Regions from separate parts of the Homo sapiens genome. Here region 2 is linked to region 1. The links are contacts of gene promoters, found by promoter capture Hi-C in human tissues and cell types (Jung and others, 2019). All regions are on one chromosome and are shown on one strand. The core of a region is centred on a gene start or on the middle of the fragment in contact, and the rest is flanking DNA. Distances in the headings are between cores, read along the strand shown. Region 1 holds the start of OPN1SW (opsin 1, short wave sensitive). Region 2 has its middle 7.3 kb from the start of HILPDA.

Evidence for each region. The method cuts DNA at HindIII sites, captures the fragments that hold promoters and counts their contacts. A contact is called where the count stands out against the background at its distance.
Region 2: a fragment that was not itself captured here is called in contact with the fragment with the promoter of OPN1SW in region 1 in 2 of the 25 tissues and cell types used here (adrenal gland and bladder).

What each region holds. Positions count from the first base shown.
Region 1 is chr7:128,773,186-128,779,792 of GRCh38, forward strand. It overlaps OPN1SW (opsin 1, short wave sensitive), which reads right to left and starts at 2,609. Exons shown (of 5, transcript NM_001385125.1): 1 at 2,254-2,609; 2 at 1,801-1,969; 3 at 1,313-1,478; 4 at 464-703. The coding sequence starts at 2,596. It overlaps CALU (calumenin), which reads left to right. Exons shown (of 7, transcript NM_001219.5): 7 at 1-215. RefSeq lists cis regulatory regions at 2,595-3,162, 2,603-3,597, 2,606-6,607, 2,606-6,405, 2,606-3,705 and 1 more. The HindIII fragment of the contact is 13,114 bases long and covers 1-6,607 here.
Region 2 is chr7:128,445,287-128,451,893 of GRCh38, forward strand. No RefSeq gene overlaps it. Among named protein-coding and RNA genes, the nearest start is that of HILPDA, 7.3 kb to the right of the region's middle. The HindIII fragment of the contact is 7,397 bases long and covers 210-6,607 here.

The DNA.
Region 1 (6,607 bases), core at 1,359-3,858:
ACATGCTCGTGCAGGCTAAAAGTTGGAAGGGAAATGATTAAGAAATTATTAAATGCAAGGACTGAAAATTGAGAGGAATCTGAGTTTTTATTTTTATTTTTTTAATTTTATTTAAGTTCCAGGATACATGTGCAGGATGTGCAGGTTTGTTACATAGGTAAACGTGTGCCATGGTGGTTTGCTGCACGAGTTTTTCAATAAAATGCTTTCATTCATCCTGTTCTTTGGAGCAACTTCATTTTCCTGACTCAAGTTCTTTCCTCCGGGGTTCTATTTTCTCGTCTTGATAACCGTGCCTTCCTCCCTGTGCTTACCAAAGGCTTCCCAACCTACTCGGGGGTTTTGTGGCTTCCCTCGTCTACTAGAAACCTGGGTAGAGTCCAGGGTGCTCTGAGTTAAAAGTCAATGGTGAGAAAAGAACCAGGGTCTTCTGGACCATAGGAATGTGAATAAAGAGCTTTACCTGCTTATTCATGAAGCAGTAGATGATGGGATTGTAGATGCAAGCACTCTTGGAGAAGAATGAAGGAATGGTGACAAGCCGTAAGTCCAGCCCATGGTTACGGTTGTTGACCATGTACATGGCGAAGGCCGCGTAGGGCACGTAGCAGACACAGAAGGATCCTACCATCACAACCACCATGCGGCTCACCTCCCGTTCAGCCTTCTGGGTCGTAGCTGACTCCTGCTGCTGAGCTGCAACCTGGGGTGGAGCACGGAAAGCATCACATCTCTCTTTTTCCTGGCCCTCTGGATGCTTTTTTTTTTTTTTTTTAATTTTTAATTTTTAATTTTCTTTTTGAGACCGAGTCTCGCTCTGTTGCCCAGGCTGGAGTTGCAGTGGTGCAGTCTCGGCTCACTGAACCTCCACCTCCCGGGTTCAAGTGATTCTTTTGTCTCAGCCTCCTGAGTAGCTGGGGTTACAAGCACACACCACCATGCCCAGCTAATTTTCGCATTTTAGCATTTTGCCATGTAGGCCAGGCTGGTCTGGAACTATTGACCTCAGGTGATCCGTCTGCTTCGGCCTCCCAAAGTGCTGGGATTATAGGCGTGAGCCACTGCGCCCGGTCTCTGGATGCTTTTCTGTGGGATGGGGGAGGGGGCATCCACTCTGATTGCCTCTTTTCTGTCCCATCTCCTGGCCTAGTTCCTTTGGATCTCCATCATTCTCCCTCCTCCTACTTCCTTTGCTGCTTTTAGATACCCTCTCTGGCTATGGACATTTCCAGGCATCTTATGTTTCAGAGCACTCTTCCTTCTCATGTGGAGCCCCGAACCCCTTCTTCCCTGACTATCAAATGCCACTCACAGCTTTCAGGGCCCTCAGCAGCTGAGTGTAGGAGAAGCAGATGAGGGAGAGAGGCACAATGAAGCAGAAGATGAAGAGGAACCACGTATAGGACTCGCTGCGGTATTTGGTGCCCACGGTGTACCAGTCAGGGCCACAGGAACACTGCAGGCCCTCAGGGATGAACCTGCAAAGGACCAAACACTTGCTCACTGGACTCTCCACAAGAGTGCAGTGGGAGCTGAGATGCCTGGATTGTGTTCTCCACTTAGAACCCACGGAATGCCCTAAGGCTTCAAGCAGGGGGGTTTTCTGTCCTGACTGGGAGAAGCTACAGCAATTCCAACTGCAGAGTAAACGTTAGCACTTGTCTCCCACTGCCCTTTCGCCTCATATTGCAACTCTTTAAAAGTAGAGGTCAAAGACTAAATAGTTATACCCAAGCTCTCTTTCCACCCACATCAACCTGAGCTCCTAGTTAACTCAGCACCACTGCCCTGCACTCTCACCGGCTCCAGCCAAAGAAGGGTGGGATGGAGACGCCAATACCAATGGTCCAGGTAGCCAGGACCACCGTCAGTGCATGCTTGGAGCTGAAGCGGAAGTTGCCGAAGGGCTTACAGATGACAATGTAGCGCTCAAAGGCCAGGAAGGCCAGTGACCATCCTGTAACCAGACCTGTGGTGAAATGTGAGGATAATGGGCTAGACAGAGCCCCACCCAGCCTGGCTGGCAGAGTGGCAAACAGATCGGGTGGAGCAAGCACAGAGAGACAGGGCTGGACTGACATTTGGAGTGAAGACTCAAACATCCTATTTTAGCCAAACTTCTAGTCTGGGTTGCTTTGTACCCCAGTATTTTAAAAAGCACCAGACTCATTTCCCCCAGACTCCTCTTTAGGAACCCCCTCCAGTGGAGTAGCAACCTTTGCCTTCCCCTAACCCCTTTTTCCCCTGCAGTACCTGCTACAGTGCCCAGGAAGCCCTCCAAAGCACAAACATGGCGACCGAAGACGAAGTATCCGTTACAGCTGGCGACGAAGACAGGGAAGACAGAGAAGATGCAGAGGAGGAAGCCTCCGAAGGACACGTTGACCAGAATGTAGTTGAGGGGCTGCCGCAACTTTTTGTAGCGCAGTGTGGCCACCAGCACCATGGCATTGAGTGGGAACCCTATAAGGAAGACAGTGCCCATGAAAGCTGCCTGGAGGTAGAAGGCCCAGACAGGGGCAATGTGGTACTGAGGCCCATCCCACGGCCCCACTGAAGAGATATTTTTGAACAGATAAAACTCTTCCTCCGACATTTTTCTCATGGATGCCCCACACCCCCCTCTGAGTCCTCTTATAGGTGATCCTCCCACCCCACAAAACCCCTCCTCTAAAAACACTTGGGCTCTGTGAATGATCAATACTAATCCTAAACCTCCCAAGGACAAAGTTTGGGATTAGAAATCCCTAAACCACTACCTAAACCTTTTGTGGCCCCAAAGCCGATTGTGTTCTTCAGAGGATAAGAGATTGGGCTCAAATAATCTGGATATGCAATGCTGGGTGCTGGGATGAACAGAAGTGGACTCCCTGAGGTCTGGGAGGTGCTGACCCATATTCACTGAAGATGCTTCCACTTTTTTGTTCTTTTAATGGGGCTATAGAAAGGGCACGCCTCTTATTTTGGCTTCTGGCACAACTGTATCAGTTAAGTTTTCCTCAACTCATCTGCCCCTTTGTGGAAGGTGCCCATCTTAAGTCTGCTGAGAGGCTAGGAACCAGCCCTGGGCTGCAGGAAAGGGCTGGGAGTGGGGAGTGCCCTGGAAGCACATCAGTAAACAGCCTTGATGGAACAGGACTTAGGCAACTTGACAATGCCTAGAGGTCTAGGGCATCCCTGAGCCAGGCTGCCTCCATTTCTTTGTGTTGAATCTACTCAAAGAGTGTGCCTTTCCTACTCAGACCTCCAGCCAGGGAGGTGGGTCTGTTCACTGTCCTTACGCCATGTTCATGCCTACCCCTACCCTTAGCTCAACAAGTCGCCACAGTCTTCCTCCTGTCTGTTCATTGAAGTCTTATCTAGCCCTCACAGCCTACCTCACAAACACCTCTTCTGTGCAGCCCACCCCAGTGACACCAACTCTGCTTTAAGTTCCACCTGCACTTGTACTCAGTACTACACTTTAGGCTTTATGAATGAATCTTTTCCACCTCAGCAGATCATAAATATATAGATGAGTTGGCCGGGCGTGGTGGCTCAAGCCTGTAATCCCAGCACTTTGGGAGGCTGAGATGGGTGGATCACAAGGTCAGGAGATCGAGACCATCCTGGCTAACGGTGAAACCCCGTCTCTACTAAAAATACAAAAAATTAGCTGGGTGTGGTGGTGGGCGCCTGTAGTCCCAGCTACTTGGGAGGCTGAGGCAGGAGAATGGCGTGAACCCGGGAGGCGGAGCCTGCAGTGAGCCGAGATCACGCCACTGCACTCCAGCCTGTGGGACAGAGCGAGACTATATATATAGATGAGTTAAAAGTGACACACTTTAGGTATAAGTAAGTTTAAAAGTGAAAGGATGGTCCAGTAATGGCAGAATAGTTTATTAGATGAATGCCCCCTTAGGCAAAAAAATTGTAAACTGGACACAATATGAAAAACAACTTTTTGAAAACACCTAAAGTATCCAAAGCAGGCAGAAACTGAAAGGAACTCAACTCTTCAATGAAAAGAACCATCTACATTGTTGTTTTTTTTTTTCCCTGAGTGTACTCCCGAGTATAAATGGCACAGGATAGCTAGAACTTGAGCAGAAAGCCCCAGCCTTTTTTGGCTTGAAGAGTCAGAGGACAGAGGACAGGAGACAGAGGACAGTTTGGGACTCCAGAACAGCTGAAGGTGGATTTCCTGGAATGAAAGAAGCCACAGAAGGCAAAGTCTTTAAATCTGCATATAAACTCCCCTCAAATCATAGGCTGACTGCTGAACTGTGGATGGAGGAATTTCCAAGAGCCCAGTAAAAGACAACCACTGGAGGTCTGAAAGAGCTAAGCAGATTTTGACTGTTACCCACTGTAGCAGAGAAAGAGTTTGAATTTGAATCCCAAGTCAGAGGGTCTGGGTAAACACTTAGGGCTTTCTACTTGAAACTCCCAAAAGGCCACACCATAGAGCTAAAATCTATATCCCAGGACTAAATATTTGTTCTGAGAGTAAGGTCAAAGCCAAAGCTGACTCATACTAGCAAAAGATAAAACCAAGCCTCAGCGGGTTCAAGGTGATCAACTAGTAAGTTAATTGCTTATTAGAACAAAAATCAACACCCCTCAATGGAAGATAACCCAGTTTCTAAAGTTCACTATCTACAATGTCTAATATACAATGAAAAATTAAAAGGCGTGTGAAAGAAAAAAAAAACCCACAGGAAAATATGAGTCATAGCCAAAAGAAAAAGCAAGCAATAGAAACAGAACCTGAGATGACCCAAGAAGTTGGCACCAGCAGGAAAAACTTCAAACAGCGATATAAATATATTCAAGAACTGGAAGGAAAAAAATGATCATCGTGAGTTAATGGATCTCAGCAGAAGAATGGGAAAAATAAAATAGCCAAATGGAAATTCCAGAACTGAAAACTACAACATGTCAAATGAAGAATTTACTAGATGGCTGAACAGCAGATTGGACAGCAGAAGAAAGGATCAGTGAACTTACAGATAGATCAATAACAAAAAGATATCTGGAAAATCCCCCAAACACTTATGAATAAGCAATATACATCTAAATATCCTGTGAGTCAAAAGAGAAATCATAAGGAAAAACTGAAAGAATTTCAGCTGAATAACAACAAAAAAGTATTAGAAATTGAAGGAGTCAGCTAAAGCAGTACTTAGAGAAAAATTTATAGCTTTAAGTATTTATACTAGACAATAAATGTTTAAAATTTAAACTTTCACCTTGAGAAGCTGAAAGGGTGAATCAAATCTAAAATAAATAGGGGCAGATACTAAAAAGCAGAGCAGAAAACATTGAAATTAAAAATGAATAAAGAATGGAGAAAAATCAATGAAACCTGAAGCAAAACAAAATAGTTCTCTCCTGTCTCCAGCATCTCCTCAGTAGGATCTGAGCCAATCTCAGGTCACTGCAACCTCCATCTCCTGGGTTCAAGTGATTCTCTTGCCTCAGTCTCCCATGTAGCTGGGATTACAGGTCTGTGCCACCATGCCCAGCTAATTTTTGCATTTTTAGTAGAGACAGGGTTTCACCATTTTGGCCAGGCTGTTCTCAAACTCCTGACCTCAGGTGATCTGACCACCTCGGCCTCCCGAAGTGCTGGGATTACAGGCATGAGCCACTGTGCCCAGCTGACTTAATTATTTCCGAAAGACCGCCACTCTCATGTGCATGCGCACACATGCACATCCCACACAAACACTCGGCCGCAGGTGGGAGTCCTGGTGGAGGTTACTGGGGAGAGCCAGCTAAGGGTCCAGTCAGATTGCCTGAGTCATGGGGGGAACAGGGTGGGAGGGCACTGTCTGGGAAGGTGTGAGGACAGTATTAGGAGGGGCCAAAGATGTGGCCACCTAGCCTTGTACAGATGAGCAGAGCTGCTCATCCGTTGCCCTGGGCAGGACTTCAGGACCAGGGCCAGAGGTCACCTTAAGGTGCCTATCCCTGAGCAGGGCACATGGACTGTGTGTGAGCCTGGCCTGCGTGGAACAAGCCAGCCTCCACTGTCCGCTGGGCTCTGCTGAGGTGCCCACCTCTGCAAACATTTCTGATGGGAGGCTAAATGGCGAGGGTGCAAGACACCCCGGGCCCTTTTACATCCAGTGTACAAGGCTAGGTGGCCACATCTTTGGCCCCTCCTAATACTGTCCTCACGCCTTCCCAGACAGTGCCCTCCCACCCTGTTCCCCCAACAGCAGAGGGAGACAATGGGCCCAAGCTGGAGGCAACCCAATCCCTGAGGGGCTCAGACCAAAAAGAGCCTCACCCAAGCGCAAAGTCTTACCGGTGCTCAAGCCATGGACAAAAATTCTCCAAAGTCATGGAGGCCACGGAGTAGGAGGAGGCAAGCTTCTGAGGAAGGGGCATGGGGTAAAGGAGGAAGAGAAAATAGAAAAACTGGAGGCAGACTGGGCACGGTGGCTCACACCTGTAATCCCACCACTTTTGGAGGCCAAGGTGGGCAGATCACTTGAGGTCAGGTGTTCACCAACCTGGCCAACATGGTGAAACCCTGTCTCTACCAAAAAATACAAAAATTTGCTGGGCATGGTGGCGCACTCCTGTATAGTCCCAGCTATTTGGGAGGCTGAGGTAG
Region 2 (6,607 bases), core at 2,658-5,157, 330 kb before region 1:
CAGGTAATCCACCTGCCTTGGCCTCCCAAAGTGCTGAGATTACAGGCGTGAGCCACTGCACCCAGCCTGGTTTACTGATCTTTAGTGCATGTGAGTGATAAAGATTGGTCCACTGATAACAACTGAGCATCTGGTTTGCACAAGGCACAGACTGAGAAGCAAATATATTTTTAAATCTTAAAACAACCCTCTCAAAGTTACAGGAGATAACTAATTAACAGAGCGATGAATAAGGATGATGCTTACAATACATTTTTAAAATTTTATTCTGGCCGGGCGCAGTGGCTCACACCTGTAATCCCAACACTTTGGGAGGCCAAGGCGGGTGGATCACTTGAGGTCAGGAGTTTGAGATCAGCCTGGCCAACATGGCGAAACCCTGTCTCTACTAAAAATATAAAAATCAGCCAGGCATGGTGGCAGGTGCCTGTAATCCCAGCTACTCAGGAGGCTGAGGCAGGAGAATCACTAGAACTCAGGAGGCAGAGGTTGCAGTGAGCCAAGATCACACCACTGCACTCCAACCTGGGTGACAAAGCAAAACTCTGTCTCAAAAAAAAAAATTATTTTGGATTCAGTGGGTACATGTGCAAATTTGTTACATGAGTATATTGCATAATGGGCTTCCAGTGAACCCATCACCCGAACAGTGAACACTGCACTCAGTGAGTAGTTTTTCAAAAGGGACACCCTTTGGAGTCCCTGGTAAGAACTTTTAAGAATAATATACAAGACGTTCTCTAGACGGAACATGCTTATCAACTGAGAGGTATAAACATCGAACGCCGTATCAGCAAGCGATACTCCAACATGCAAAAGAACCCAGGATGGGGGACTGGGGAGGTTTCCAGGGTCAAATGGGAGAGCTGGGAGCCTGAGACACCAATAGTTTTAGCTGACTTTGAGTATTTGTCAGGCGAGGGGCTGAGGGGTTCGGTGTGGGTAGGGCTTTGGGCCTTCATCGTTGACAGGAGGGATTCTGACTGGACAGCTTTTTCTCCAGTCCTTTAGCCAAAGGAGGAAGGATCACTGGGAGAAGGAAAAAACGGTGGGAGTCTCCTCAAAGACCAGTTGTCCTCTACCCCTCATTACCCCCTCTCCTGACAGCAGCCACTGTCCTTCTTGGCTAAGATAAGAGACAGCAGGAACAGCCCCCTGCCCTGCTCTAGCCGAGTTGGAACAGAGCCACGGAGTGAGTTGGCTGGCAGCAGAAATGTCTGGGCATCTGTGTCTGGGGGAGAGGTGCCAGCTGTCTAGGCAGAGAGAAAATGTGCCCATGTGCACACACACGTGTGTAAAGGTAGGGCATGTGTGTGTGAACACATGCAGCAGAGGGAAGAGCAGCTGTTGTCATTGTGAATGACAACAGCACAGACACCAGGAGAACCCCGTTGTCTCCCAACCCAGAGACTCAGACTCTGCCTCCCTGCCTGGAGCAAGACACCCATCTCCTCTGGTAGCACCTCGACCATCTACCAGGCAGCAACGGAGCTCATTTGAGGCCTGGCCCTTTTGCAGCTAACCTGGGCTCTCCCATGCTCATAGAGCCCACTGTGACCACCAAGAGAAGGTGACAGCAAGGAGGAAGGCTCCCGCTATGTTCTAACATTCAATGATTTTATGGTTCCATGAAGGAAAGAGAGAGCAACATGTCAATACACAGATTTATCCTAAACTGCTGGATGGAAATAACTTGGAAAACAGCATAGAATGAGTAAACTCTTAAATACATGTTTCCAGTGAGTTTCCTTTTTGATTCTAATTACCTCCATAAGACAGAGGACTGTCCCCAAGCCTTTACTGAGATGAGAAAGTAGGGACTTCTTCACCCCAAATCTTTCCTAAGGTTTTATTTACAGACTTTTTCAAAACATTCACAATACTTTTTCTTCTTCTTATAATACATGCTCATAGTAGAAAAATTGAAACTCAAGAAACTATAAAACCTCCATAATCCACCCCATCCTCACTTTACTTCCACAGGCCTCAGATATGCCTGCTATGGGATGCCCCATCATGTTAAAATGCACCCACATCTCACATCTGAAGTTACTGTGCTGAGTTGAAACTGTCTAGTTGGCCAGGCACAGTGGCTCATGCCTGTAATCCTTGCACTTTGGGAGGCTGAGGTGGGTGGATCACTTGAGGCCAGGAGTTCAAAACCAGCCTGGCCAACATGGAGAAACCCCATCTCTACTAAAAATACAAAAAAATTAGCCAGACGTGGTGACAGGCAGCTGTAATCCCAGCTACTCAAGAGGCTGAGGCAGGAGAATTGCTTAAACCTGGGAGGCAGAGGTTGCAGTGAGCCGAGATCATGCCACTGCCCTCCAGCCTGGGTGACAGAGCGAAACTCCATCTCAAAAAAAAAAAAGAAAAGAAAAGAAGGAAACTGTCTAGTTAACATATATTTTGCAGACCTTTGATTAAATGTTTATGAATTTTAGTTCTGTCATTTAAAATTTTTTGAAGCCAATATATTTTGTTTTCTATATCTCAAATATGTTTGAGAGTCCCTGAAAAGTCTATAGGCCCCAGGAACTGTGCTTATTGTGACTAATGAATAAGAGGACCCTGCCCAGTGAAAAATGTTACTATTTAAGAGTAGATACACTGTCAGTCTCTCTCTCTCTCTCTCTCTCTCTCTCTATGCATTTATCATGGATAACTTAGAGAGCCCATATAGTTTTGAATACTGTTTTTCTCCTATTCTACACTGTTCATCCAGTATTTCGCAGACAGAGCTTGAGAGCAGAGGCCTGCTGTGTCAGTGGGAGTCCCCCACCCACACCACAGCTTCTCAGTGCAGGTTCTAGGACCACACACCTCTTAGGTAGAAAGGCTCTGAGAGAGACAGCTTGTCTCCCTCAGACCTGAGCTTCACAGATGAGGAAACTGAGGCCTGAAGAAGTGGCTGGCCCCAGGTGAGTGGTTAGTTAGTACCACAACCAGACTCAGAATTTAGGTTGCTGGCTCAGGTGCGAGGTGAAGAAGCCACTGCTTGCCTTGGGTGCCCTCTGCCCAACTTCCAGGGCCAACTCTCTGTGGGCACCTTCCTCTGGTGCCATACTGCCAGGCCCTCCCACTCCACTCCCGCCTCCCACTAGCTGCTCCAAGCTTTTGACCCAATTTCCCCATCCAAACTCCTGTGTTTGTTTTCCCTTCATTGTCACAATGTTGCTCAAGCTGTAAATTTACAAAATGTTAGTAAATTTTAATTTTTTTCTCTGATCGTAAAAGTAACAGATGCACATGGGAGAAAATAGGAGGAAAAAAGGAGTTCATTATATCACCCAGAGATGATCACTGTAAAAATGCTGTGCAACAAACATCAATAAATAGAATTAGAAATTGATCAGCTGCTCTGTCATAATTATTATTAATTTTTTTAGAGACGGGGTCTTGTCATGTTGCCTAGGCTGGTCTTGAACTCTTGGGCTCAAGCAATGCTCCCACATCAGCTTCCCAAAGTGCTGATATTACAGGCGTCAGCCACCATGCTTGGTGTGTTTCCTTTCAGTTATAAAATATCTCAGATACATAAACATGATTCGTTCATTCGACAAATATTTGTTGAGCATATACCACATGGAAGGCACTATTCTGGGTTTAGGAACATAATAATTGACACAATAGTCCGAGTCCTTGTTCTCAAGGAGCTACATTCTAGCGGAGGAAGATAGATAATCAACAAATAAATATAAAACAGGTTTGTTGGTGTTGAGTACTATGAAGAAAAAATAAAACAGGGTAAAGGAGAAGAGTAGGTGGTGAGTGTTACTGTACATGAAATGATTGGGAAAGCCTCCCTGAGAAATGACATTTGATCAGGGTCCAGAAGGAAGTGACACAGTGAGCCAAATATTGAGTGAACATGTTTCAGACACTGAGGACATAATAGTGAATAAAAGTGACATTCCACTCTGGGCCACCGGCCCTCCTCTTCATTGTAGACACCTTGTACTATTTTACCTAATGGCCTGAAGACTGAATTGTACAGGAAGAGAAGGAAGAGGAAGAGCTACCCTTAACATTTTAATTTTTTTTGGCGGGTGCGGTGGCTCATGCCTGTAATCCCAGCACTTTGGGAGGCTGAGGCAGGTGGATCACCTGAGGTCAGGAGTTCGAGACCAGCCTGGCCAACATGGTGAAACCCCATCTCTACTAAAAAAAAGTACAAAAATTAGCTAGGTGTGGTGGCTGGCACCTGTAGTTCAGCTACTCGGGAGGCTGAGGCAGGAGAATCGCTTGAACCCGGGAGGTGGAGGTTGCAATGAGCTGAGATCGCACCACTGCACTCCAGCCTGGGTGACAGAGTGAGACTGTCTCAAAAAGATAAAAATAAATAATAAATATAAATATATTTATTTATTTAATAAGGTTGGTCTTGAATTCCTGACCTCAACTGATCCACCTGCCTTGGCCTACCAAAGTTCCAGGATTATAGGCATGAGCCACCGCGCCCAACCAACTCTTAACATTTTAATATACAGACTTAAAAAGTCTAAAATTGGCTGGGTGTGGTGGCTTACACCTGTAATCCCAGCACTTTGTGAGGCTGAGGCAGGTGGATCACTTGAGGTCAGGAGTTTGAGACCAGCCTGGCCAACATAGTGAAATGTCTCTACTAAGAATACAAAAATTAGCTGGGCATGGTGGTGGGTGCCTGTAATCCCAGCTACTCGGGAGGCTGAGGCAGGAGAATCACTTGAACCTGGGAGGCGAAGGTTGCAGTGAACCGAGATTGCACCATTGCACTCCAGCCTGGGTGACAAGACCAAGACTCTGTCTCAAAAAAAAAAAAAAAGTCTAACATTAATCAATATTTACTTTCCTCCCAAATAAAAACATATTAAACTTCATCTTTGCTCACTGTTCCCATCTGAAATGTTTACCAATTTTTCAGTTTATCTTGTTATTTTTACTTTTCTAAATCAACCATTATTACTAAAAATAGTTTTGAGTAGTCATAATTTGTTTAGATACATCCATATGTTTTGTAAATATTTCCTTACCATTTTTTCTTGCATTTCCCTATTTCCTTTTGGGTTCAGTTTTCTTGTGTCTTAGGTTCATTCTTCAGTAGTTTCCACGGTAAGGGCCTACGGCAGCTAACTCTGTTTTTGTTTGTCATCTGACGATGTCTTCAACTTGCCCTCCTTTAAAGAAAATAATGACTTTATTCAGATATAGTTCACATATCAAAATCCACCGTTTTAAAGGATACAATTCAATGGTTAAGTACATTCATAGACTTGTATAACTGTCAGCACTAATTTTAGAACATTTCATCACCAGCCCACACACCAAAAAAAAAACCACCCTGTACCCACTAGCAGTCATTCCCCAGTCCCCTCTCCTCCAGCCCTTGGCAACCACTTACCTACTTTCTGTCTCTGTGGATTTGCCTTTTTTTTTTTTTTGAGACAGTCTTGCTCTGTTGCCCAGGCTGGAGTGCAGTGGTGTGATCTCGGCTCACTGCAACCTCTGCCTCCTGGGTTCAAGCGATTTTCCTGTCTCAGCCTCCCAGGTAGGTGGGACTACAGGTCAGCACCACCATGCCTGGCTAATTTTGTCTTTTTGGTAGAGACAGGGTTTCACCATGTTGGCCAGGCTGGTCTCAAACTCCTGACCTCCAGTGATCTGCCCACCTTGGTCTCTGTGCTGGGATCCTCAAAGTGCTGGGCTTACAGGTGGGAGCCACTACGCCCAGCCCTGGATTTGCCTATTCTGACATTTCATATAAATGGAATCATACGATATGTACCCTTTTGTTTCTGGTTTCTTTCACTTAGCATAATGTGTTCAAGGTGCATCCATATTGTAGCATGTATCAATACTTCATTTTTTATGGCTGAATAATATTCCATTGTATCACATTTTGTTTATCCTTTAGCCAGTTGACGGACATTTGGGTTGTTTCTACTTTTTTGGCTATTATGAATAATGCTGCTATGAACATTTGTGTATAAGCGTTTGTGTGTGAACATACATCTTCGGTTCACTTGGGTATATATTTAGGAGCTAAACTGCTGGATCATACAGTAACTCTATGTTTAACTTTTTGAGGAACTATTCTAAAGCAGCTGCACTATTTTACATTCTAACAGCAATGTATGAGGGTTCTGTTTTTTCTACATTTTCATCAACATTTGTTCTTTTCTGGGTTTTTTTGCTTGTTTGTGTTATAGCCATCCTAGTGAGTGTGAGGTGGTGTCTCATTGTATTCTATTTTTTATGTTCATTTTAACATAAATGTAGCATACTGCTCACATACTATAAACCCTTTTCATTTAACAATATATTGTGGAGATCTTGTCGATATATACAGAACTTACTCTCTTTTTTCTGGCTTTATGGTAATTCACTGTCTGAATGCACCATCTTTTATTTAACCAGTTCTCTACTGATGGGCTGTTTTTTCCAGTCTTTCATTATCACAAACAGTGCTGCAACAGTGCTACCTTTAAACACTCCATTCTCTACATGTGGAAGGATAAATCCTAAAAGTGGAATTCTGGGCTAAAGGGCATGTGTATGCTTTTATTTTTATAGACATTGCCAAATGGTAGTCAGTGGTCTTTTTTAACACCTCAATGGTCTTGAG